Linked DNA regions of Homo sapiens: regions 2, 3 and 4 are each linked to region 1. Evidence: promoter capture Hi-C in 16 types of primary human blood cells and fetal thymus (Javierre and others, 2016). All regions are on one chromosome and are shown on one strand. The core of a region is centred on a gene start or on the middle of the fragment in contact, and the rest is flanking DNA. Distances in the headings are between cores, read along the strand shown. Region 1 holds the start of LURAP1 (leucine rich adaptor protein 1). Region 2 overlaps MAST2 (microtubule associated serine/threonine kinase 2). Region 3 overlaps MAST2 (microtubule associated serine/threonine kinase 2). Region 4 overlaps P3R3URF-PIK3R3 (P3R3URF-PIK3R3 readthrough).

Region 1 (6,006 bases), core at 1,435-3,934:
AATGTAACCAGTCACCTAGTCCTGTCAGTCTTACCTCCTAAAGAGCCTTCCATTCTAGTCTAATTCTTCTTTGACCTCACAATCAGCCCCAGTGCAGGCCATTTCAGTTTCTTGCTTTCCAGCCAGTCTCCTTGACTCTAGATTTTTACTCCTCCTATCCTTTTCTCCTTGCAAAATCCAGAGTGATTTTCTTTAAGGCAAATGTTGCCGGGTTCGGTGGCTCATGCCTGTAATCCCGGCACTTTGGGAGGCCAAGGCGGGTGGATCACCTGAGGCGGATGGATCCGCCTGGCCAACATGGTGAAACCCCGTCTCTACTAAAAATACAAGAATTAGCTGGGTGTTGTGGCAGGTGCCTGTAATTCCAGTTACTCAGGAGGCTGAGGCAGGAGAATGGCTTGAACCTGGGAGGCAGAAGTTGCAATGAGCCAAGATGGTGCCACTGCACTCCAGCCTGGGCAACAGAGCCGGACTCTGTCTCAAAAAAAAAAGACAAATGTTTTGTCTATCTCTAACTTAAAACCCTTCCATGGATCAAAAAGTACCAAGGAAAATGATGTTACTTAAAATTATAAAGGTAGGCCAGGCATGGTGGCTCATGCCTGTAATCCCAGCACTTTGGGAGGCTAAGGTGGGAGGATTGCTTGAGGCCAGGAGTTCGAGACCAGCCTGGGCAACATAGCGAGACTCTATCTAAATTTTAAAAAAAGTTAATTACAAAGGTAACCTTAGATGAACTAAAAAGAGTGATAGAAATATGTAGTGCCAGGCCGGGCGCAGTGGCTCACACCTGTAATCCCAGCACTTTGGGAGGCTGAGGCAGGCAGATCACGAGGTCAAGAGTTCGAGACCAGCCTGACCAACATGGTGAAACCCCCGTCTCTACTAAAAATACAAAAATTAGTCGGGCATGGTGGCACGTGCCTGTAATCCCAGCTACTCAGGAGGCTGAGGCAGGAGAATCGCTTGAACCCAGGAGGGCAGGTTGCAGTGAGTCAAGATCGTGCCACTGCACTCCAGCCTGGGCGACAGAGTGAGACTCCATCTCAAAAAAAAAAAAAAAAAGAAAAAAGAAAGAAAAGAAAAGAAATATATATTGCCAATGGGGGAAAGGAACTACAGAGTGTGAGTTAAACCCATATATCCATATTTATCTGAATAGGACAATAAACAGCAGATGAATGTTTAAAATTGAGAAGTAGTGTGGCTGGGCATGGTGGCATACTCCTGTAGTCACAGCTGCTTGGGAGGCAGGAGGATTGCTTGAGCCCAGGAGTTTGAGTCCAGCCTGGGCAATGTAGGAAGACCCTGTCTCTAAAAAAGAAAAAATAGTGGTAGGATTTACAATAAGAGGATAGTTACTCCTACCCTACCCTTTCACACCTCTAGGCCCACTCCCAATTGGCAACCACTTTTAGTTAACTCTAAACAATAACGTTATGGGTATGAACACCAAAAGAAAAAAAAAAACTAAAAGTTATTTTTTGCCAATTGGGAGTGGGCCTAGAGGTGTGAAAGGGTAGGGTAGGGGTAACTATCTTCTCATTGTAAATCCTTCTGCAACCATGGGCTGGAATTACTTGAATTAAAAGCCTAAACAAACCAGAGTTTTCATGGCTGTTCATTACCTGTTAAATAAAACCCAAACATCTCAGAACCATTTTCTGTAACCTTGTTACTCAAAGTGTGGTCCCTTATTACTTGAAGTGTGGACCAGCAGCATGGCCATCACCTGGGAGCTTATTAGAAATGCAGGATCTTGGCTGGGCGCAGTGGCTCACACCTGTAATCCCAGCACTTTGGGAGGCCAAGGCAGGCGGATCACTTGAAGTCAGGAGTTCAAGACCAGCCTGGCCAACATGGTGAAACCCTGTCTCTACTAAAAATACAAAAATATTAGCTGGGCATGGTGGCGCATGCCTGTAATCCCAGCTACTCAGGAGGCAGAGGCAGGAGAATTGCTTGAACCCAGGGAGGCAGAGGTTTGTAGTGAGCCAAGATCGCGCCACCACGCTACATCCTGGGCGACAGAGCGAGACTCTGTCTCAAAAAAAAAAAAAAAAAAAAAAAAAAAATGCAGGATCTCAAGCCCCACCCCAGATTTACAAAATCAGAACCTACATTTTAACAAGATCCGCAGATAATTCATACGCACAGTCAAGCTTAAGGAGCATCTTGCTTGTAAGCCCAACGTGGACCTCTTCAGCTTCAGTACTGGTTGCCCTTTTCTACTCCGTTAGCCTGAATTCTAGCCCCTGGGGGGGGGGGGTGGTGTGTGTGTGTGTGTGTGTGTGTGTGTGTGTGTGTGTCTAGCTAAAATCCAGTCATCGTTTTATACCCAATTCCTCTGCTCCAGGAAGACTTCCAAGCCCTCTGCAGCTCTCTGTTACCGCTGTTCCTTAAACTCCCACATCTCTGACTGAAGCTGCTTAGACTTCATTCTGCAAACATGTATTGGGCGCCTGCTGTGTGCCTGGCTGGATTCAGTGCCAGGGTGGGGCGAAGGCGCTGAGGTCTCCGAGTGCTCTTTCAGGTCCAACTCCAGAATCGCCCAGCCCCACGCAATCCAGGGCCAGAGGTTGTGTGCGCAGCACTCGAATACATCCACAGACGGTGCTGCGCGGCTTTTCTGAGTGTTACGGCGCCCTCCTCCCGCCCCCGCGCCGCGCGGGCGGGGACCCACCGGTTTTGCTCCGCTTTAGCAGCGGCGAAGGGAGGACCCCCGGGAGCCGGTCCCCGGCGTCCGGTCGCCCAGCCCTTTTCAGGCTTGGGCCCGCATGGAGGGGACCGTGGAGTCCCAGACGCCTGACCTGCGGGATGTGGAGGGTAAGGTGGGCAGGAAGACCCCTGAAGGGCTGCTCCGCGGGCTGCGAGGCGAGTGTGAGCTGGGAACCTCTGGCGCCCTGCTGCTCCCAGGGGCGTCTAGCACCGGCCACGACTTGGGGGACAAGATCATGGCGCTGAAGATGGAGCTGGTGAGTGCTGAATCCATGGGCCAAGGGGACGAGTCCCTAGTGTAGGGCCGGGAGGGACGAACTCATGCTCCCAGAGTTAAGCTGGAGAGGAGGTAGTTAAAACTCTCCACCTAACTGCTCAGAATCCCTCCCAGATCAATCCGTAAACGCTGGGGTGGAGATGGAGTGACGTCCATTACTTGTCCCCCAAGAGTGAGTGGGGTGTTGATGGTCCTGAGGACTTGGGTTGGGAGCAGTGGGTTTTGGAAGTTATTCCTGCCAAATAATTGGGAGGAGAGAGATGAGGACTGGGAAGTACTGAGAACCCAACGCAGCACAAATTCCCCCCGCCTGTATGGGCCACCTATTCCCCGCCAGTCCCCGTTGTAAGGCAACCGGTTTTTTCTCCTTCTGCTAACCGGGAAAGGGTTTAAGTTCCTGTGAGGCCGCAGTGTTCCGCACAGAAAAGAAGTGGGTAAAGGGGCCTATCTGCTGAAAACTACCTGGACCAGGGGCACTGAAAACCTTCTCCGTTTCCTCTACATCCCCCAGCCCTACTTAAAATAATGGAAAGTTCCTAGACCCATAGCAGGGACAGAGAGTAGCAGCACCACTGGTGCTGATTCCCTCGCCTCAGACTCAGTCTCCTCCCAGCCAGTCTTCCAGGTAAACTGGATATTTGGATCTCATCTGTACATTCTTGGGGAGAAGAGGAAACAGCAACCCTCCCCTTTCTCTATTGCTGCTGGTCTAGATTCAGAGCCAAAAGGGCAGCCGAGGCCCTGGCAGGTTCCCCAGGGCCCTGATTCCGGTGAAGTGGGTGATTTACACCTGCCACTACTTTGCAGCCAGTTCTGGGGAACTGAGGAATTGCCATCGGCTTCCTGGCTCACAACCAGGAGCCCACAGTGAGTACGTCAGCTAAAGTCTTCCTGTGTGCCCAGCCTGTGCCAAGCTGGTCTGTGAAGGAGAAGGGGAAGGAAATCATGGGGGCTCTGAGACCAGCCAGGGCTCCGACGCCTGAGCTGAGAGGCTGGGAAGAGAGTCTGGTGGGTGGAGCAGTCAGGAAAGGCCCCCTGGGAGAAGGACTTGAATGCCAAGTGTGCACTTGGCCTTGAAGGTTGGAGGTGAGTGCCCAATTCTCCAGAGCAAGGCTGTGACTGTACCCACCTAAGCGGGGGCTTGCCTTTGCCTCACTGTACAAACTTTAGCTCAAGGCCTAGTAAGAGCCTATCTAGACTGTCTACTTGCTTTGAAAACTTTCACCCAGTGCATGTGCCAGGCAGCTTGCTGAGCACTTTACATGATGCTCTCTTCATCTCCACAGTAACCCTGTTAAGTGATATTTTATAGATGGAGAAACTGAGGCACAGGGTGGGCATGGTGGCTCACGCCTGTAATCCCAGCACTTTGGGAGGCCGAGGCAGGCAGATCGCTTGAGCCCAGGAGTTTGAGACCAGCCTGGGCAACAAAGCAAGACCCTGTCTCTACAAAAAATACAAAAATTAGATGGGTGTTGTGGTGTGTGCCTGTAGTCCTAGCTACTCTGGAGGCAGAGGCAGGAGGATCACTTGAGCCCAGGAAGAGGAGGTTGCAGTGAGCTGAAATCGCACCACTGCACTCCAGCCTGGGTGACAGAGCTCAGAGCTAGACCCTGTCTCAAAAAAAGAAGGGGAAGAAGGGGAGGAAGGGAGGAAGGGAGGGAGGGAGGAGAAAAGAAAAGAAAACAGAGGCACAGGGAGTTTAATAACTGCCCAACATCACGCAAAAAGCAGGGCCATGATTTGAACCCAGATCATCTGACTGCACTTTGCATCTTTACTTTGAGACCTGCTTTGTGCCAGATAGTCTGAACATTTTATGTCATTGAAATGAGAAAACTGGTCATCATTTCTCCCATCTTACAGATAAAACGTGCTTGCAGATTCTGAACTCACATAGGGAGTCAGTGGAAGAGCCACGCCCAGTCTCTGGCTCTCTTCTCTGCCTTGGTGGAAACTATCTGTAAACTTTAAGGGGCTGCATTTAACTTTTGATTTTGTCTCTCTGTATTCTTGACCCAGCTTGCCTGGGGCCTGAGGCTGCCCGAGAAAGGGCACAAGGGAGGGAGCCTTCTGGGGCCAGAATGAGGAGAGATCCCCATCCTATTTTTTCTCCTTCCTCAGGCCAGGATGTTATTAATATTAATCTCTTCTTGTGCTCTGCCCTGCCTACTGGGTTGCACCCAGGAAGGACAAGGGGTGGGGCAAGGGATTTGCCTTCGGGCTACTGAAGGCAGGACTGGTTCAAGCCCTCTAAGGACTGTCCTTCAATTGTTCCTCTCCCAGCTCTCCTTGCACAAAGGGGGAAGGCCTACCCTTGAGGCCAAGGTCAGTCCTGCCTCTAGGCCTCGTCCCTCCTGCTTTCTTCCTCTACCCTCCATTCAAAGGTTGAGTGAACAAGCCAGACTGGGATATGTGGGAATGGGAAACAGTGGCAACTTCTTCTTAGTTCTCCCACCCAAAGAACTGTTGCTATGACAACCCACCTCCACAGAGGCAGTTTGAGAAAAAGCTTTAGGCAAGGAAGAATGCACGGGTTCAAGTCTTGGCTCTGCTTCTGAAACGTTTTGTGGTCTTGAGCAGCACTCTGTCTCTCTCCTGGCCTCAGTTTTTCCTCCTTTTGGTGGAGGGGGTAGAGGGAGATGGGGACTGTGAAACCAGATGATTGTTAAGAACCTTTATAGTAACAATATTCTGATAGTCCCCGCTCTGGGAGCTCGGACTGGGATTTCCAGGCTTTTACCCTAGGGCCTGATTTATATTGAGCAATGAGGAAACCATACAGGACCCCAGCGCTGGGCAGAGAGTCTGGTATGTAGATGTTAAGGAGAGGAGTAGGGAGCCTGAATCTCCTTGGAAGGAGAATTGGGTTTGGAGTCGCCTCTGAGGCTGCATCTCTCCTGAGCTGTTTATCCTATACTCTATTTTCTTCAAGAGATGGTGTGAAAAGAGTGTTTCTTTTTCTGGCAAGAAAACCTTGCTTTCTTCTATTCTGGGAGTGATGCTGTCAC
Region 2 (6,006 bases), core at 1,810-4,309, 250 kb before region 1:
ATTCTTCACAGAACTAGAAAAATTATTTAAAAAATTATATGGAACCGGGCCGGGTGCGGTGGCTCACGCCTGTAATCCCAGCACTTTGGGAGGCCAAGGCGGGTGGATCATGAGGTCAGGAGTTCAAGACCAGCCTGGCTAATATGGTGAAACCCCATCTCTAGTAAAAATACAAAAAATTAGCTGCATGTGGTGGTGTGTGTCTGTAGTCTCAGCTACCTGGGAGGCTGAGGCAGGAGAATTGCTTGAACCTGGGAGGTGAAGATTGGAGTGGACTGAGATCATGCCACTCCATTCCAGCCTGGGCGACAGAGTGAGACTCCATCTCAAAAAAAAAAAAAAAAAAAAAAAAAAAGTCATATGGAACAAGAAAAGAGCCCAAATCGCCAAGGCAATCCTAAGCAAAGAGAACAAAGCTGACTTCAAACTATACTACAGGGCTACAGTAATTAAAACAGCATGGTGCTGGTACAAAAACAGGGACATAAACCAATAGAACAGAACAGAGAGCCTATTTTAAAAATCAGGGGTTTTAAAATCGTAGGCCACACACCTATGATAACCTGATCTTTGACAAAGCTGACAAAAACAAGCAATGGGGAAAAGACTCCCTATTCAGTAAGTGGTTCTGGGATAACTGGCTAGCCATAAGCAGAAGACTGAAGCTACATAGTACCCCTCCTTTACATCATATACAAAAATCAACTCAAGATGCGTTAAAGACTTAAACGTAAAACTATGAAAACCCTGGAAGACAACCTAAGCAGTACCATCCTGGACACAGGAATGGGCAGATTTCATGACAAAGACACCAAAAGCGATTGCAACAAAAGCAAAAATGGACAAGTTTAATTAAACTTAAGAGGTTCTGCACAACAAAAGAAACTATCAACAGAGTAAACAGACAACCTACAGAATAGGAAAAAATATTTGCAATCTGCATCTGACAAAGGTCTAATATTCAGCATCTATAAGGAACTTAAACAAATTTACAGGAGAAAAACAACCCCATTAAAAAGTGGGCAAAGGACGTGAACAGATACTTTTCAAAAGAAGGCATACATGCGACCAACAAGCATAAGAAAAAAAGCTCAATATCACCGAGCATTAGAGAACTGCAAATCAAAACCACAATGAGATCTATCATTTCACACCAGTCAGAATGGCTGTTGTTAAAAGTAAAAAAATAACAGATGCTGGCAAGGTTGTGGAGGAAAGGGAACACTTACACACTGTTGGTGGGAGTGTAATTTAGTTCAACCATTGTGGAAAGCAGTATGGTGATTCCTCAAAGAGCTAAAAGCAGAAGTACCATTTGACCCAGCAATTTCATTACTAGGTATATACCCAGAGGAATATAAATCATTCTGCCATAAAGACACATGCACACGAATGTTCATTATAGCACTATTCACATTAGCAAAGACATGGAATCAACCTAAATGCCCATTAATGATAGATGGGATAAAGAAAATGTGGTACATATATACCATGGAATGTTATGCAGCCATAAAGAACAAGATCATGTCTTTTGCGAGAACATGGATGGAGCTGGAGGCTACGATCCTAAGTAAACTAACCCAGGAACAGGAAACCAAATACCGCATGTTCTTACTTATAAGTGGGAGCTGAATGAAGATAACTCATGAACACAAAGAAGGGAAAACAACAGACATTGAGGTCTACTTGGGGGTGGAGAGAGAGAGGAGGGAGAGGAGCAGGAAAAGTAACTATTGGGTGCTAGGCTTAATATCTGGGTGATGAAACAACCTATACAACAAACCCCTGTGTCAGGAGTTTACCTATGTACCTGAATATGTACCCCTGAACCTAAAAAATAATAATAATAACAGTGGGAGCCAGCTTTGAAGCTTCCAAAAATGGGGTCAGGGAGGAGATGTGCTAGTCTCAATAACCTTGAGGGGAAAAAAGATGAGGTCTTGGCTTGTTTAGTGTAAGCAATTAGAATGGACACCCCCTACATACAATTAGGACCCTCAAAAGACTTCACCCTCAGTGCAGGAATGGACTAGGAAAACCACTGGCATGTACAGATAAAAAGAACTTTCTTAATCTCATCTGGATTTTAAATAGGGCTTTTAATAAAGGAAAGACGTCTCCCTTGAAAATTTCTACCTGTAAGCCTTCACTTAACTGAAATTGGGGGTTGGAGTTTATACTCTTTGTGTGGTCTAGAAGCTGGTTCTGGGCTGGTAATAACTCTGGCTCATCTGTCAGAAACAAACTTAACACTTCTATTAAGTGACATACCCTCAAATCAGGTATCATAGGATTCTCATAAATGCAGCTTCACTGAAGGTAAGTTTGTAGTACAAAATTACAAACCAACCAACCAATCTCCCCTAAGTGAAAATCAATAGATAAAAGAAACAGTTTGGAACTTCAGAAAGTAGCATTAGAGGGTGGGCACAGTGGCTCACAACTTTCATCTTAATACTTTGGATGGCTGAGGCGAGTGGACTGCTTGAGCCCAGGAGTTCGAAACCAGCCTGGGCAACATGGTCAAACCCTGTCTCTACAAAAAAATACGAATGTTAGCTGAGTGTGGTGGCTCATGCCTGTAATCCCAGCACTTTAGGAGGCTGAGGTGGGAGGATCGCTTGAGCCCGGGAGTTCAAGACCAGCCTGAACAACATAGTGAAGTCTCATCTCTACTAAATTTTTTTTTTTTTAATTAGCTGGGCATGGTGGTGCATGCTTGTTTTCTCAGCTACTTGGGAGGCTGAGGTGAGGATTGCTTGTGTCAGGGAGGTCAAGGCTGCAGTGAACTGTGATTGTGCCATTGCACCCTAGCCTGGATGACAGAGTGAGAACCTGTCTCAAAAAGAAAAACAAAGTAACATTAGAGATTAAGACTGTAAGATTAGTATATTTAAAATTATTAAGAATATAAAAGAAGGAGGCTGGACATGATGGCTTATGCCTGTAATCCCAGCAGTTTGGGAGGACAAGACGGGCGGATCACTTGAGCCCAGGAGTTCAAGACCATCCCAGACAATATGGTAAAACCCTGTCTCTACAAAAAATACAAAACTTAGTCAGGCATGGTAGCATGGGCCTGTGGCCCCAGCTACCCTGGAGGCTGAGGTGGGAGGATCACCTGAGCCCAGGAAATAGAGGCAACAGTGAGTGGAGATTGAGCCACTGCACTCCAACCTGGGTGACAGAGTGATCCCCTGTCTCAAAACAAACAAAAAAGAATATAAAAGAAGGAAACAGAAACAAGAGAAAAAAAGACCAAATATATTTGGACAAAAAGCTAATTAGAATTCGAGGAATAAAATATATGTATTGTGTTGTTGAAATTGAAAATGCAACAGTCGTGTTAAATAATAGAGCTGTGGACAAAGTAAAATTTTTATCAAGAGTGCAAGACAGAAATGGGAAGATATAAACTATGAATGAAAGCTAAGAAATACAGAAGATATGATCAGATGGTCCAACAGAATATGGAGAAATGGGAAGAGGCAGTATTCATAGAGATAATGACTGAGACCTTCCAGAACTGATTAGAAACAAACAAGGAACATCTTGAAGCATGGTGAGTCCCCACTATAATAAATAAAAATAAATCCCCATCTAGATACATTGCAGTACTGCAGAGCCATGAAAACAAAGAGAATATCTTAAAGAACCCTCAAGAATTCACTAAAGTAAAAGAGCTCAGCAAGAAAGTTCACTCAAGAAAATTGAAAATATATGTTCATGCAAAAACTTGTAAACAAATGTTCACAGCAGCAGCATCTATGATAACCAAAAAGTAGTAACAACCCAAATACCTTGTCATTTTATGAAAGGATTAACAATTGTGGCATGGAGAATTTATGCATGCCACAACATGCATGAAAACATGCTGAGTAAAAGAAGCCAAAGACTACATAATGTATGATTCAGTTTCTGTGAAATGTCCAGAATACGTAGAGTCCACAGAGACAGTGAATCCATAGAGACAGTACGTTGGTGGTTGGTTGTGGGGAGAATGGGATGGAGAATGACTGCTAATGGGTACAAGGTTTCTTTTTGGCAATGAAAATATTCTGGAATTAGATAGTGGCAGTGCTTGCACAGCCTTGTGAATATACTAAAAATGAATGAGTTGTACATTTTAAAAGGGTGAATTTTATATTGTTGGAAATATATCTAAAAAAATAAGTTAATGGTTAAAATAAAGCAACCAGACAGAAAAAGAAAAATTAAGTACAAAGGAACAGCACTTATGCTAAGAGTAAGCTTTTCAACAGCAATAACAGGAGCCATAAGACTACAGAATAATATTTTTAAAGTATTGAGAAAAAAGTTACTCTGAACAAGACACTAGAATTATCCATACTTGCTAAATTAGCAGTGGAAGTGAGTGACCAAAAAAAGCCATTTTCAGACCATCAAAAACCAAGAGAACAAAATCTATAGAGAAGATTTATTACTATCAGATCCTCTCTGAAATAATTACTACAGGATATATTTCAGAAACAAAGAAGAAATACATGAGATCCCAAGAGGGAATGTTAAGCAGTGAAATTAGAAAATACATGAGTAAATCTAAGCAAGCAATTATTGTATAAAATAATAATTACTAATTTGGCAATGTAAAAGTAAGATAGACCTGAAATAATAGATTGTAATAATAGGTAAGTTGAAAGGGAGTGGGAGGATTGGAGTTAAAAGCGATCTAGGATCTTTTAATTTTGTTCAGAAAGAGAGTTGAGGTGCTGGTTAACTTTAGACATTGTTGAGACAAGAACACCTATTAAACCTTGAATAATAACAACTACTTTAGGACAGAAAAAAACAAAACAATATGTAATTTCTAAACCAATAGAGCAGAGGTTAAAAAAAAAAACTTGATTAATTCAAGGAGAGTTGCCATCAGACTTGGAGGAAAACTTTACCTTAGAGCAAAGACTTTTCTCCTAGTTCCTCTGATGCCTGCTGCCCTTGCGGGGAATTCTGACTACCTGCTTCTGTGGAAATACATTCATTTGTTCAATAAACACTTGTCGAAAACCTCCTATGCCCTGTGTACTATTTCTAGGTGATTGGGATACCTCTTAGAGCTCACTCTAGAAAAGAAGAAACAGACAGTAAACATAGTTTATGTAGTATGTTAGAAGATGACAAATGCTATTGGGAAAAAAGGTAGACCAAAGGGGATTCAGGAAAACAGAAAATTGGGAAGGTGACATTAGAATAAAGCCTTGAAGGAGTGAGGGATTTTGCCATTGTGTAGTTGAAGGAAGGACATTGCAAGTAAAGGGAACAGTTAACGCTGGTCCTAGTAGCTAGAAGTGCCTGTGCAAAATTAGCAGCCTGTGGAAGGTTTTGAGCAGAGGAATGAAATAATCAGATGTGTGCTTTAAAAGAATCACTGTGGCTTGCTCATATTAAGAACAGATTAGGGTAGAAGACAAGAGTAAACCAGAGAGACTAGTTAGGAGGGTATTGAAATCCAGGTAAGCAATAAATAATATATCAATAATAATATAATGGATACGTAATAATATCTCCCTTTATTGGGGAGGGAATATGTATTTTTTTCCCACTCTCACTTCCCCATCTTAACCAGGACATCTTGGTTGTTACTCTGAAATATTATAGCATCTGGAAGTGCTTGACTGTAACCAGCTCCACATTCTTCTTTATATTGTTTACACTTACTGAAACAGAAGTGATCTTTTCCTCATTCTAAATTCTAAAAGGTGCCTGCCAAGTACTATCCAGTCACGGAGTGCTCAAGTTCCTAGGAGCAGCTAGACCTCTGAGATTTGGAGACTGGAGAGACCTAAGGGATCTGCAACCAGACATCTTATTCCATACCCTTTGTTGCTTCACAGTGGGAAGCAGGCTTCCTAAGTAAATTTACAGCAGCTCTTGCAGGGGTCAGATTTTCCGAGTGCCTGCTAGTTGCTGGAGGGAGGGGTTTTTGAAGGCTAGAAACGATCTACTACTCTCCAAATGTGGTTACAATTCAACATTGTCACAGAGAAT
Region 3 (6,006 bases), core at 1,549-4,048, 170 kb before region 1:
CTAAAGAAGGAACTGCCGCCCAGGGAAGTGAGCCCTCTGGAGGTAGTTGGAGCCAGGAGTGTGCTGTCTGGCAAGGGGGCCCTGCCAGGGAAGGGGGTGCTGCAGCCTGCTCCCTCACGGGCCCTAGGCACCCTCCGGCAGGACCGAGCCGAACGACGGGAGTCGCTGCAGAAGCAAGAAGCCATTCGTGAGGTGGACTCCTCAGAGGACGACACCGAGGAAGGGCCTGAGAACAGCCAGGGTGCACAGGAGCTGAGCTTGGCACCTCACCCAGAAGTGAGCCAGAGTGTGGCCCCTAAAGGAGCAGGAGAGAGTGGGGAAGAGGATCCTTTCCCGTCCAGAGACCCTAGGAGCCTGGGCCCAATGGTCCCAAGCCTATTGACAGGGATCACACTGGGGCCTCCCAGAATGGAAAGTCCCAGTGGTCCCCACAGGAGGCTCGGGAGCCCACAAGCCATTGAGGAGGCTGCCAGCTCCTCCTCAGCAGGCCCCAACCTAGGTCAGTCTGGAGCCACAGACCCCATCCCTCCTGAAGGTTGCTGGAAGGCCCAGCACCTCCACACCCAGGCACTAACAGCACTTTCTCCCAGCACTTCGGGACTCACCCCCACCAGCAGTTGCTCTCCTCCCAGCTCCACCTCTGGGAAGCTGAGCATGTGGTCCTGGAAATCCCTTATTGAGGGCCCAGACAGGGCATCCCCAAGCAGAAAGGCAACCATGGCAGGTGGGCTAGCCAACCTCCAGGATTTGGAAAACACAACTCCAGCCCAGCCTAAGAACCTGTCTCCCAGGGAGCAGGGGAAGACACAGCCACCTAGTGCCCCCAGACTGGCCCATCCATCTTATGAGGATCCCAGCCAGGGCTGGCTATGGGAGTCTGAGTGTGCACAAGCAGTGAAAGAGGATCCAGCCCTGAGCATCACCCAAGTGCCTGATGCCTCAGGTGACAGAAGGCAGGACGTTCCATGCCGAGGCTGCCCCCTCACCCAGAAGTCTGAGCCCAGCCTCAGGAGGGGCCAAGAACCAGGGGGCCATCAAAAGCATCGGGATTTGGCATTGGTTCCAGATGAGCTTTTAAAGCAAACATAGCAGTTGTTTGCCATTTCTTGCACTCAGACCTGTGTAATATATGCTCCTGGAAACCATCTTTATGTCTTTTGCTTGCTTGTTTTCCTTCGGTCAACCCACATGTAACTAGGTCCTGTGTTGCTGCTGGGAATATAGTGGTGAATAAAACAGTTTCCACCACCAGGGGAGGGCCACCTAACCCAGCTTGACTTCCCAAAGGCTTTGACATTTGAGCTCAAACATGAAGAATAGATGATAGGTAGTAGTTTGCTGGGTGTGGAAGAGTGGAGGTTGGCATAAGAAAGGCTGTCCAGGCAACGTTTAGCACATGCAGTATACCTGGCATAGTCAAGGAACCAAAGATAATTCAAAGTAGAAACGGGTCTGGCAAGTGAGGCAAGGGCCATGTCTAATGGTCTTCCAGGAGATTTGACTTCGTGAAGGTGATGGGGAACCAGAAAATACCATGTAGCAACTAAAATTCCTTCATAGATAAGGGCACTAAGACTTTGATGCCCATGGTAATACAGTAGCTTGGGTAGAACGGGGGTTAGAACGTAGGTCTCCCTTGGACTCCGGAACTCACATCTCTCCTAACTAGGATTGCCTCAGCCAGGAAATGAGGAGGGGAAGAAGTGAGAGAAGGCAAAGAGTTTAACTTTGGGTGCGTTTGAGATAAAAGAGAAGACAGAAGCAGCAACCAGCAGAGTCATAAAGTCTATGGGAGGAGTTTTAAAATGGACAGAGAAGTTAACGATAAATGCCGAGGTGAGGGCGAGATTAAAACAGCTGCCAGTCGTATTTAGTAACAAGCCCTTCATAATTGTAGCCAGTGAGCTCTTCCTGGGCTGTTGTAGGTAGAGGCCTCAGCACTGGAGGTGGATGGACATCGTGTGTGTAGCCCGCATTGAGTAGAACTTCATTTGATGGTAGTGTGGGAGGAAGGGGGAGGACATAAGTGGGACCAGTGCCAGGGGAGTCAGGAGGTGGCATCACAGGGCAGGCAGTGGGGCTTGGTAGAGCACCAAGGCTTTGTCTCCATAGTGATAGAGGACTTGAGAAACTGTCTTGCACTGGTTGCACTGATCGTCCCACAATCCAGTGCCTAGGTCTGAAGAAGACGTGTTAGGAGGCCTGAAGACGAAAATGCCTCTGGGCCATTGCCTGGGAAGGCTGTGGCCACCAGAGGGCGCACTGTATCCACAGTGGCAGAGCCCATTTATGCAGATATTTGGCCCCTCAGCCTTCTAGTCCTCTCCACTTCTTCATTCATTCACAGCGGACCCTGGGCTAATGTACCGGGACCTGGGCAGACAGATCACAGGTTGTGAGCTGGAGAATGGCAGGGGCATGGCTGAGGTAGCAAGTGCCCCGTGCATGTAGGGATCTGGTCAGAAGCACCATACCACAGGTGAAAAGGATGTTGGGAACTGCCCTCCTAGAGGGTTGGAAATGGGGATGGGAGGAGGAAGCAGAGATGCTAAACATCCTATACCACACTGGGCAACTGCCCCAAGTGTCAGTGGTGTTCCCCTTGAGAAACTGGTGGGATTATCCTGAGGGTAGTGAAGAGTTTCTAAAAGGTAACTTCAGGGAAGTGGTATTATCATTTGCTTTAGGAAGATCACTCGCTGCAGTATAGAGAGGCTGGAGTGGAGTGAGCGTACCACAGAGGATGTAGTGACCCATTTTGGTGGTCTGAACTAGAACAGCAACAGTGAGGAGGTAAGGAAGGAAAGGGTGGGAAGCTGGACATCTAGATTTGGGAGCCATCAGGAAGTAGAGGGCAATGAAAGCCACAGGAGATGAGGACTGTCCAGGGAACATACGCAGAATGAGGAAGAAGTCCCGAAATACTGGCACTAGCTGAGGGGGATAGAGCCAGTGAAAAGTTGAAGGTGGGGATTGAGATCCTGAATCAGGGAGAAGCCAGACCATCTAATTTTGTAATTCACCCTAAGATCAATGGAGACTTATTTAATGTTTTACATCGGTTCAGATTTGTATTTTGAAAAGATGACTGGTTGCTATAATGAGAATGGATCTGAGGGGGACAAGAATGGAAGAAGGGGGGCCTTCCAGGATGAAGGGTGCAGATGGTAGTGAAGCAGTGAAGTTAGAAGTGATGTTTTGATTGACACTTGGTGAAGGACTTTAGGTATGAAGCAGAGGGCTATCAAGGATGATGACTGACTACATTTTTGACTTATATAACCAGATGAATTGTATTTCCATTCACCGAAATAAGAAACAAGGAAGAGAACCAGGGCTAAGTAGTTCAGTGCTGCATTCCATACGCTAAATATGAAGTAGCTTCCAATAGAGGTCTGGGCAAATGAAATAAACAGATGTAATCAGCCTAGAGATGGTAGGTGGATTCATGGCTGTGGATAAAACTGCCAGGTAAAATGGCATTGAGAACTGAAGGAATCCAGGAGATGTAAAAGAACAGTCAGATGTCAGAAGAATATTAGATTAGTGAGTTGTGATAGAGTCCATGAAGGAGCTTTCCATGGACAGGATAGTTAACAGCGATGGTTATTGAAGGCATCAAGAAAAGCAGTTTCAAACAGTGGTGGAACCAGTACTGAAATATTTGAGATGGGGAAATAAGGAAATTTAAGACAGTTCTTTCCAAAGGCTTGGCTTTGAAGAGGAGAAAAGAGATAAAGGTATATGGGATGATTGAGTAGGGATTAGGGGAGTAGAATGAGAACCAACCAACCATGTTTAAGTGTCAGTGGAAATGATCCAGTTGAAGTAGAGAAAGAATTGATCTTAATCTTGGGAGATTCCTGAGGTGGAAGAAAATAGATTCCAAAATACATGTGGAAGGATTGACTTTAGTTGGAGGGGACTATTGTAATTTAACAGATGGGAGGGAGAATAGTTATGTAGATATAGATAAGGTTGTAGGTTTGGTGGTAGGAAGGTGAGGAAATTCATAGCCAATCATACTTTTTCTGACAAGTAAACAAGTTTGCTTTTTTGAGACAGAGTTTCGCTCTGTTGCCCAGGCTGGAGTGCAGTGGCACGGCCTCAGCTCACTGCAACCCCTGCATCCCAGGTTCAAGCAATTCTCATGCCTCAGCCTCCCGAGTAGCTGGGATTACAGGTGCATGCTACCACGCCCAGCTAATTTTTGTACTTTTAGTAGAGACGGGGTTTCACCACGTTGGCCAGGCTGTTCTCGAACTCCTGACCTCAGGTGATCCACCCGCCTCGGCCTCCCAAAGTGCTGGGATTACAGGCATGAGCCACCACGCCCAGCCCCAAGTAAACAAGTTTGAAGTGTCGGTGAGATACCCAGGAGCCCAGTGGAAACATCCAGCCAGCGGGTAGAGTTCAGAAGAAAGAACTGGGAAGGAGCTAGGAATTTGAGCATCCTAAACACAGAAGTGCGAACAACTCTGGGATTAGGAGAAATCCATAGTTCCTGGCAGTGGTCTTGGGATGCTGTGTAGCTAAAGTGTAGTGGGGAGAAAAGACATAGGCAAGGTCACTTAGAACAACAGGCTGTTCCCTGCCCAATCTGACTTATTTATAATTGAGTACACATGGGTGGGGCCTGAGACATGGATGAGCGCTGCAATATCCTATGCAACAAGAGGTTATCGCATGTTGGCTCATTACGTTCCCAGAATACAGGAAGCTCAACAGTGTGCCTTGGCAGGAGATGACAAGGGCCTGGGGCAATAAGAGGATAGATTATAAAGCTGGGCCCATTTCCCCCTCCCCCAGAGTAGAATGTGGAAACACTTCATTCTGGGCAGAAATATGAGAACCAATAAACAGCTTATTAGGAGTGGGCAGTGAGGTGTGGAGGAAATGGCATTCAGTTTTAATTTTCTCAGAGTCAGTATCTAAGACTTCTGTGTCTGTGTTCGGTGGACAGGACTCTGGCATCATGCCTAGTTGGAGTCAATGTCCTCCCCTAGGAAGAAAAGAGCCTCTGGCTGCCCCAGTACTAGTCTTTTGGTGCTTACTGGAGAGAAGGTTTGGAAGTTTCAAGGGCTGTTCAACACCTGAGTACTCTTCTCTCTTGACCCCCACTCTGCCCCCAGCCCACCCCTTCATAGCATGAAGACAAAAAATTACTTTATTGCAATGTCTTTATTGCATTACTGGAGCAAGTTGGCCAGACTGTCCCCTCTTGGGGAAGGTATTAAACAAAAAGACCAATAAGTATCTCCTCTCGCCTTTCCCCCTACCCTCCCCAACAATTGCACAGCAATGTCTGAACACATCTGGTGACAAGAACAATTTGTAAAGTGGTCTAGCAACTACATTATGAACTGTCCCATCACAAGACATACAGTTGGCTTTCTTGTGAGTCAGATATTTTTACGTAAACTACACGAATTTTCTTGGACACATCAAAGACAACAGAATAGATTTTTCACAAGTAACGGCACCAAAGTCACATGCTGGAATTTGTAAGGAAACGAGGTTGTTTGCCACAAGTGGCTGGAGCTAAAGCAGGTTTGAGCAGTTGGCAGCAGAGGGCCCAAGCAGGCCCCCTATCTGGACCCTCTGGTTTCTGAGGCCACTGAAGCCTCACAGAGGCCTACTCTGGGTTGTTAAATAGCAGCAGAGACCACCTTAGAAAACAGGAATTGCCCAGGTGCAATTCTCAGTTTAAGAGAACACATGGGGCTGATTACTTGTAGCAAAAAAGAGACCCGTGGAAGACACATTGGCTCTCAAAGCTTCTTCAAAGCACATGAGGCCTAAATAAGTGGAGGTCCCATCAAGGCTTGGAGAGGGAGTGAAAGTGTTGGGAGGGCCTCATTCTTGGCCAGATCAGTGGTAAGGACGCAGGCAGTCTATCCAGGCCCGAATCATGGCGTGCCATCTAAGGCCAGGTGGAGACAACACTGTTCTGTGATGAAAGCTTCACCTGGAAACAATGGGCCTAGTACCTGTGTCCAGCCAGCC
Region 4 (6,006 bases), core at 1,188-3,687, 150 kb before region 1:
TCCTGCCTCAGCCTCCTGAGTAGCTGGGATTACAAGAATGTGCCACCACGCCCAGCTAATTTTGTATTTTTAGTAGAAACGGAGTTTCACTATGTTGGCCAGGCTGGTGTCTCGAACTCCGGACCTCAGATGATCTGCCTACCTCGGCCTCCCAAAGTGCTGGGGTTACAGGCGTAAGCCACAGTGCCCAGCCTAGAACCTACTTCCCCTCAGAGGAAATAGAAATTCCCCACTCAGTTCTAGTATGTAAACAAAGATTCTGATTTTTATGTTTTAGGCAAACATTAATCTGTTCTTGTTAAGATATAGCATTTTACTCATGCCACAGCCAGCCTCTGAGATTTCCAAGGCATTTGTATGGATCAAGAGTCCTACATTCTGGTTTGCTCCACATATTAACTTCAGATTAACTCTGGTACCCCCTACAACTACCAAGGACACTTTCCTAAATTCTTACCATCTTACTGGCCAATTCTCAATTACAAATCTCTAATCTCTTCTTCCACCTCTAGTGTCTCTAGTGCTGGTAGTAACCTGGCACTAACGTCTCCCTCCCCATACACTCCCAGACTACTTACACAAGGTGTTGATCTCGGATCTTTCGCAGCTGGATCAGGTCAGGTTTGATGCTATTCATTTTTTTATCTATTTCTCGGTTGTCCAAAGCTTGATTCTTCAAATCCTGCTCTAGACGCATTTTGCTATCATGAATCTCACCCAGACGTGATTTCAATTTATCATAATTCATCATAATTCTGTAAAAATATTTGACATGTTAAGGCTAAAATAGAAATCAAGCAGACAGATCCTACTGGGTGAGCACGGTCCTAATATCCTTTTTTTTTTTCCCTTGAGATTGAGTCTCGCTCTGTCACCCAGGCTGGAGTGTAGTGGCATGATCTCGGCTCACTGCAACCTCCGCCTCCCGGGTTCAAGCAATTCTCCTGCCTCAGCCTCCCCAGTAGCTGGGATTACAGGCGCATGCCACCACACCCGGCTAATTTTTGTATTTTTAGTAGAGATGGGGTTTTGCCATGTTGACCAGGCTGGTCTCAAACTTCTAACCTCAGGTGATCTGCCTGCCTCAGTCTCCCAAAGTACTGGGATTACAGGCGTGAGCCATTGCACCCAGTGAGGTCCTAATATCTTAAGCGTGGTGAACATTTGTTTTTGCCTGGCCCATATCCATTCCCATTTCTGGTATTAGCACCCTGATGTTCCCTGGAGGTAAGGATTCATTCCCCCGTCTCAGATCCAGGGATGGAAACACACATGGCCCAGACTGGCCAATAAGAATATTCCACTCTATCCCATCCCTACCCTCAGGCCACAGTGACGGTTCAGGAATAGGAATAAAACTCAAACTGACCCAATGAGAGTCAATTCTAGAACATTTGCTAGAACTGTATTGTTAAAATAAATTCTCTCTTTCCACACAAATTGCTAAATTATGAATATGCAGTTCTCATCCCAGCAGCTATACTGTCACTTCACCGGCAATGCCTGCCTGAGGATAAAATCAACCCAGAGAAAAACTGAGCCAAAATACAACATGAGAGAGAATCCCAATAACCTTGTTTGGGCCCTGAATCCAGCAATGACTGAACAAGTAAAGCTATACATTTGATATTCCAGAGGTAGCATAACACAACAGTTAAGAACAATGGTTTTGCAATTAGCCTACCTACATCTGAATCTCTGCTGTCACTTGCTGTGGGGCCATGGGCAAGTTATTTAACTTCTCAGTGCCTTCATTTCCTCATCTGTTTAAAATGGTGATATGGTTTGGCTGTGCCCTCACCCAAATCTCATCTTGAATTGTACTCCCATAATTCCCACATGTTGTAGGAAGGACCCGGGAATAGATAACTGAATCATGGGGGCGGTTCCCCCATACTGTTCTCGTGGTAGTGAATAGGTCTCACAAGATCTGATGGTTTTATCAGGGGTTTCTGCTTTTGCATCTTCCTCATTCTCTCTTTGCCTGCTGCCATCCATGTAAGACGGGACTTGCTCCTCTCCTTGCCTTCCACCATGATTGTGAGGCTTCCCAAGCCACGTGGAACTGTAAGCCTAATTAAGCCTCTTCCTTTTGTAAATTGCCCTGTCTTGGGTATTTCCTTATCAGCAGCATGAAAACGGACTAATTTAGTAAATTAGTACTAGTAGAATGGGGCACTGCTGAAAAGATACCCGAAAATGGGGAAGTGACCTTAAAACTGGGTAACAGGCAGAGGTTGGAACAGTTTGGAGGGCTCAGAAGAAGACAGGAAAATGTGGGAAAGTTTGGAACTTCCTAGTGTTGAATGGCTTTGCCCAAAATGCTGATAGTCATATGGACAATAAGGTCCAGGCTGAGGTGGTCTCAGATGGAGATGAGGAACTTGTTGTGAACTGGAGCAAAGGTGACTCTTGTTACGTTTTAGCAAAGAGATTGATAGCATTTTGCCCCTGCCCTAGAGATTTGTGGAACTTTGAACTTGAGGGAGATGATTTAGGATATCTGGCGGAAGAAATTTCTAAGCAGCAAAGCATTCAAGAGGTGACGTGGGTGCTCTTAAAAGCATTCAGTTTTAAAAGAGAAACAGCATAAAAGTTTGAAAAATTTGCAGCCTGACAATGCAATAGAAAATAAAATTCCATTTTCTGAGGAGAAATTCAAGCCGGCTGCAGAAATTTGCATAAGTAACAAAAAGCCAAAAGTTAATCCCCAAGACAATGGGGGAAATGTCTTCAGGGCATGTCAGAGGTCTTCAAGGCAGCCCCTCCCATCAAGCCCTGGAGGCCTAGAGGAAAAAGGAGTTTCGTGAGCTGGGCCCAGGGTCCCTGAGCTGTGTGCAGCCTAGAGACTTGGTGCCCTGCGTCCTAGCCACTCCAGCCATGGCTGAAAGGGGCCAACATAGGGCTCAGGCCATGGATTCAGATGGTACAAGCCCCAAGTCTTGGCAGCTTCCATGTGGCATTGAGCCTGCAGGTGCACAGAAGTCAAGAATTGGGAACCTCCACCTAGATTTCAGACGTATGGAAACACCTGGATGCCCAGGCAGAAGTTTGCTGCAGGGGCGGGGCTCTCATGGAGAACCTCTGCTGGGGCAGTGTGGAAGGGAAATGCGGGGTCGAAGCCGCCACACAGAGTTCCTACTGGGGCACCGCCTAGTGGCACTGTGAGAAGAAGGCCACTGTCCTCCAGACCCCAGAATTGTAGATTCATTGACAGCTTACACCGTGTGCCTGGAAAAGCCGCAGACACTCAAGGCCACCCTGTGAAAGCAGCCAGGAGGGAGGCTGTACCCTGCAAAGCCACAGGGGCGGAGCTGCCCCAGACCATGGGAACCCATCTCTTGCGTCAGCATGTCCTGGATGTGAGACATGGAGTCAAAGGAGACCATTTTGGAGCTTTAAGATTTGACTGTCCTGCTGGATTTCAGACTTGCATGGACCCTGTAGCCCCTTTGTTCTGGCCAATTTCTTCCATTTGGAACAGGTGTATTTACCCAATGTCTGTACCCCCACTGTATCTAGGAAATAACTAGCTTGCTTTTGATTTTACAGGCTTATAGGCAGAAGAGACTTGCCTTGTCTCAGATGAGACTTTGGACTGTGGACTTTTGAGTTAATGCTGAAATGAGTTAAGACTTTGGGGGACTGTTGGGAATGCATGATTGGTTCTGAAATGTAAAGATAAAGGATTTGGGAGGGGCCAGGGGCAGAATAATATGGTTTGGCTGTGTCCCCACCCGAATCTCCTCTTGAATTGTACTCCCATAATTCCCACATGCTGTGGGAGGGACCAAGGTGAAACAACTGAATCATGGAGGCGGTTTCCCCACTACTGTTCTCATTGTAGTGAGTAAGTTTCACGAGATCTGATGGTTTTATCAGGGATTTCTGCTTTTGCATCTTCCTCATTCTCTCTTTGCCTGCTGCCATCCATGTAAGACGTGATTTGCTCTTCCTTCCCTTCCACCATGATTGTGAGGCTTCCCTAGTCACGTGGAACTGTAAGTCCAATTAAATCTCTTCTTTCTGTAAACTACCCCAGTCTCAGGTATGTCTTTATCAGCAGCATGAAAATGGACTAATACAAATGGGTACCTACAACAGTACTTACTTCACTGGGTTTTTCTGTTAATTAAATGTGACAATACATGTAAAGGACAAAAACATTCCCTGACATTATCTTGGTAAGCACGCAACAGATGACAGCTATAAGCTTTTCCAACACACAACGTTTTGCTATACTCTGAACCCTTATGGTAATGACTGTCTACATTATTCCCTTGTCACTCAATATGTGGCTTTATATTACTATTAAAACTTCATATGCTGGACACACACCTGTAATCCCAGCACTTTGGGAAGCTGAGCGGGGAGGATTGCTTGAGTCCAGGAGTTCAGGACCCCATCTCTACAAAAAGATTTTTAAAAATTAGCCAATGCAGTGGCACTTGCCTGTAGTCCTAGCAACTCGGGAGGCTGAGGCAAGTGGATCCCGTGAGCCCAGGAGGTTGAGGCTGCAGTGAGCCATGATCATGCCACTTCATTCCAGCCTGGGCAACAGAGCAAAACCCTACCTCAAAAAATAAAAAAAATTAAAAATAGGCTGGGCGCGGTGGCTCATGCCTGTAATCCCAGCACTTTGGGAGGCCAAGGCGGGCAGATCACCTGGGGTCAGGAGCTCAGGACCAGCCTGGCCAACTTGATGAAACCCTATCTCTACTAAAAATACAAAAATCAGCCGGGTGTGGTGGCATGCACCTATAATCCCAGCTACTTGGGAGGCTGAGGCAGGATAATCACTTGAACCCAGGAGGCGGAGGGTGCAGTGAGCCGAAATCGCACCACTGCACTCCAGCGTGGGCGACAGAGCGAGACTCCGTCTCAAAAATAAATAAATAAAACAAAACGTTATCATGCTACTTTACTTCCCTCTGCAACAAAACTACAAATCCTTTTCTGTTTCTTCATCGTTAATAATAATTATAATTAGGCCAGGCGCAGTAGCTCAAGCCTGTAATCCCAGCACTTTGGGAGGCCAAGGCAGGTGGATCACCTGAGGTCAGCAGTTCAAGGCCAGCCTGGCCAATTTGGCAAAACCCCATCTCTACTAAAAAGTACCAAAAATTAGCCGGGCATGGTGGGGGGTGCCTGTAATCCCAGCGACTCAGGAGGCTGAGATACAAGAATCGCTTGAACCCAGGAGACAGAGGTTGCAGTGAGCCAAGATGGCACCACTGCACTCCAGCCTGGGCAACAGAGACTCCGTCTCAAATAAATAAATAAATAAATAATTATCATTTACTGAAAGCACATCATGTGCCAGGATATATATTACTTAATTCTCTAGCATTCCAACAAGATATTATTCAGTTTATGGAAGAGAAAACAGACTGAGAAAAGTTAAGTAATTCACCCAAGTTTATACAGCTAATAAATGGCTAATTCAGAATTCAAGCCCATAGTTTTAACCATTTAAGCTACACTGCCTCACAGCACTTAGCTCTAAACTCATGCCATTAAGCTACACTGTCTCACAGCACTTTAACCATTAAGCTACACTGCCTCACAGTGCTTAGCTCTAAACTCATGCACACAGAAATACACTAATACTGTGGTCCTAATATGAGAAATAATTTTGCTTTTCCATTGCATATTAATTACTTGTATTTATTATCCACTTTAGCACTCAACCCACTATAATCTAGCTTAGTCTTCCAATACTCCACTAAATTTGCTTTGATAGGATTTCAATATCCTTTTAGTTATCAAATCCATTACTTCTCCTGCCACATCCTTTCTGTGTAATTTCATTCTTAGCATCTACCATCAACTACACACCTATGCCTCCCAAATCCTTTCTATACCAAGTTCCAAATCCAAATAATCAGCTGCCTGCCCCCTAGTGAGCTCCATTTGTGTTCTCACAGGAACCTCAAACTCACTGGTTCCAACCCTAAACTCTCCTCATGTACTTCTTATTTTGGTGAAAAACACCATCTTCCAGTC

Evidence for each region. The method cuts DNA at HindIII sites, captures the fragments that hold promoters and counts their contacts. A CHiCAGO score of 5 or more calls a contact.
Region 2: a fragment that was not itself captured here is called in contact with the fragment with the promoter of LURAP1 in region 1 in 3 of 17 cell types (erythroblasts, M1 macrophages and M0 macrophages); the score reaches 6.3 in erythroblasts.
Region 3: a fragment that was not itself captured here is called in contact with the fragment with the promoter of LURAP1 in region 1 in 16 of 17 cell types (M1 macrophages, endothelial precursors, M0 macrophages and 13 more); the score reaches 10.6 in M1 macrophages.
Region 4: a fragment that was not itself captured here is called in contact with the fragment with the promoter of LURAP1 in region 1 in 2 of 17 cell types (M1 macrophages and endothelial precursors); the score reaches 5.2 in M1 macrophages.

What each region holds. Positions count from the first base shown.
Region 1 is chr1:46,200,650-46,206,655 of GRCh38, forward strand. LURAP1 (leucine rich adaptor protein 1) reads left to right here and starts at 2,685. Exons shown (of 2, transcript NM_001013615.3): 1 at 2,685-2,975. The coding sequence starts at 2,778. It also overlaps a transcript of POMGNT1 not described here. RefSeq lists a silencer at 2,606-2,725. The HindIII fragment of the contact is 3,345 bases long and covers 2,161-5,505 here.
Region 2 is chr1:45,948,379-45,954,384 of GRCh38, forward strand. All of the region lies in intron 4 of MAST2 (microtubule associated serine/threonine kinase 2), which reads left to right. Among named protein-coding and RNA genes, the nearest start is that of MAST2, 150 kb to the left of the region's middle. The HindIII fragment of the contact is 2,380 bases long and covers 1,870-4,249 here.
Region 3 is chr1:46,034,978-46,040,983 of GRCh38, forward strand. It overlaps MAST2 (microtubule associated serine/threonine kinase 2), which reads left to right. Exons shown (of 29, transcript NM_015112.3): 29 at 1-1,145. The coding sequence ends at 1,089. It overlaps P3R3URF-PIK3R3 (P3R3URF-PIK3R3 readthrough), which reads right to left. Exons shown (of 10, transcript NM_001303427.2): 10 at 5,163-6,006. It overlaps PIK3R3 (phosphoinositide-3-kinase regulatory subunit 3), which reads right to left. Exons shown (of 10, transcript NM_003629.4): 10 at 5,163-6,006. Among named protein-coding and RNA genes, the nearest start is that of PIK3R3, 95 kb to the right of the region's middle. RefSeq lists enhancers at 1,986-2,487, 2,097-2,146. The HindIII fragment of the contact is 5,954 bases long and covers 1-5,775 here.
Region 4 is chr1:46,055,217-46,061,222 of GRCh38, forward strand. It overlaps P3R3URF-PIK3R3 (P3R3URF-PIK3R3 readthrough), which reads right to left. Exons shown (of 10, transcript NM_001303427.2): 7 at 579-755. PIK3R3 (phosphoinositide-3-kinase regulatory subunit 3) reads right to left here. Exons shown (of 10, transcript NM_003629.4): 7 at 579-755. Among named protein-coding and RNA genes, the nearest start is that of PIK3R3, 74 kb to the right of the region's middle. The HindIII fragment of the contact is 3,547 bases long and covers 665-4,211 here.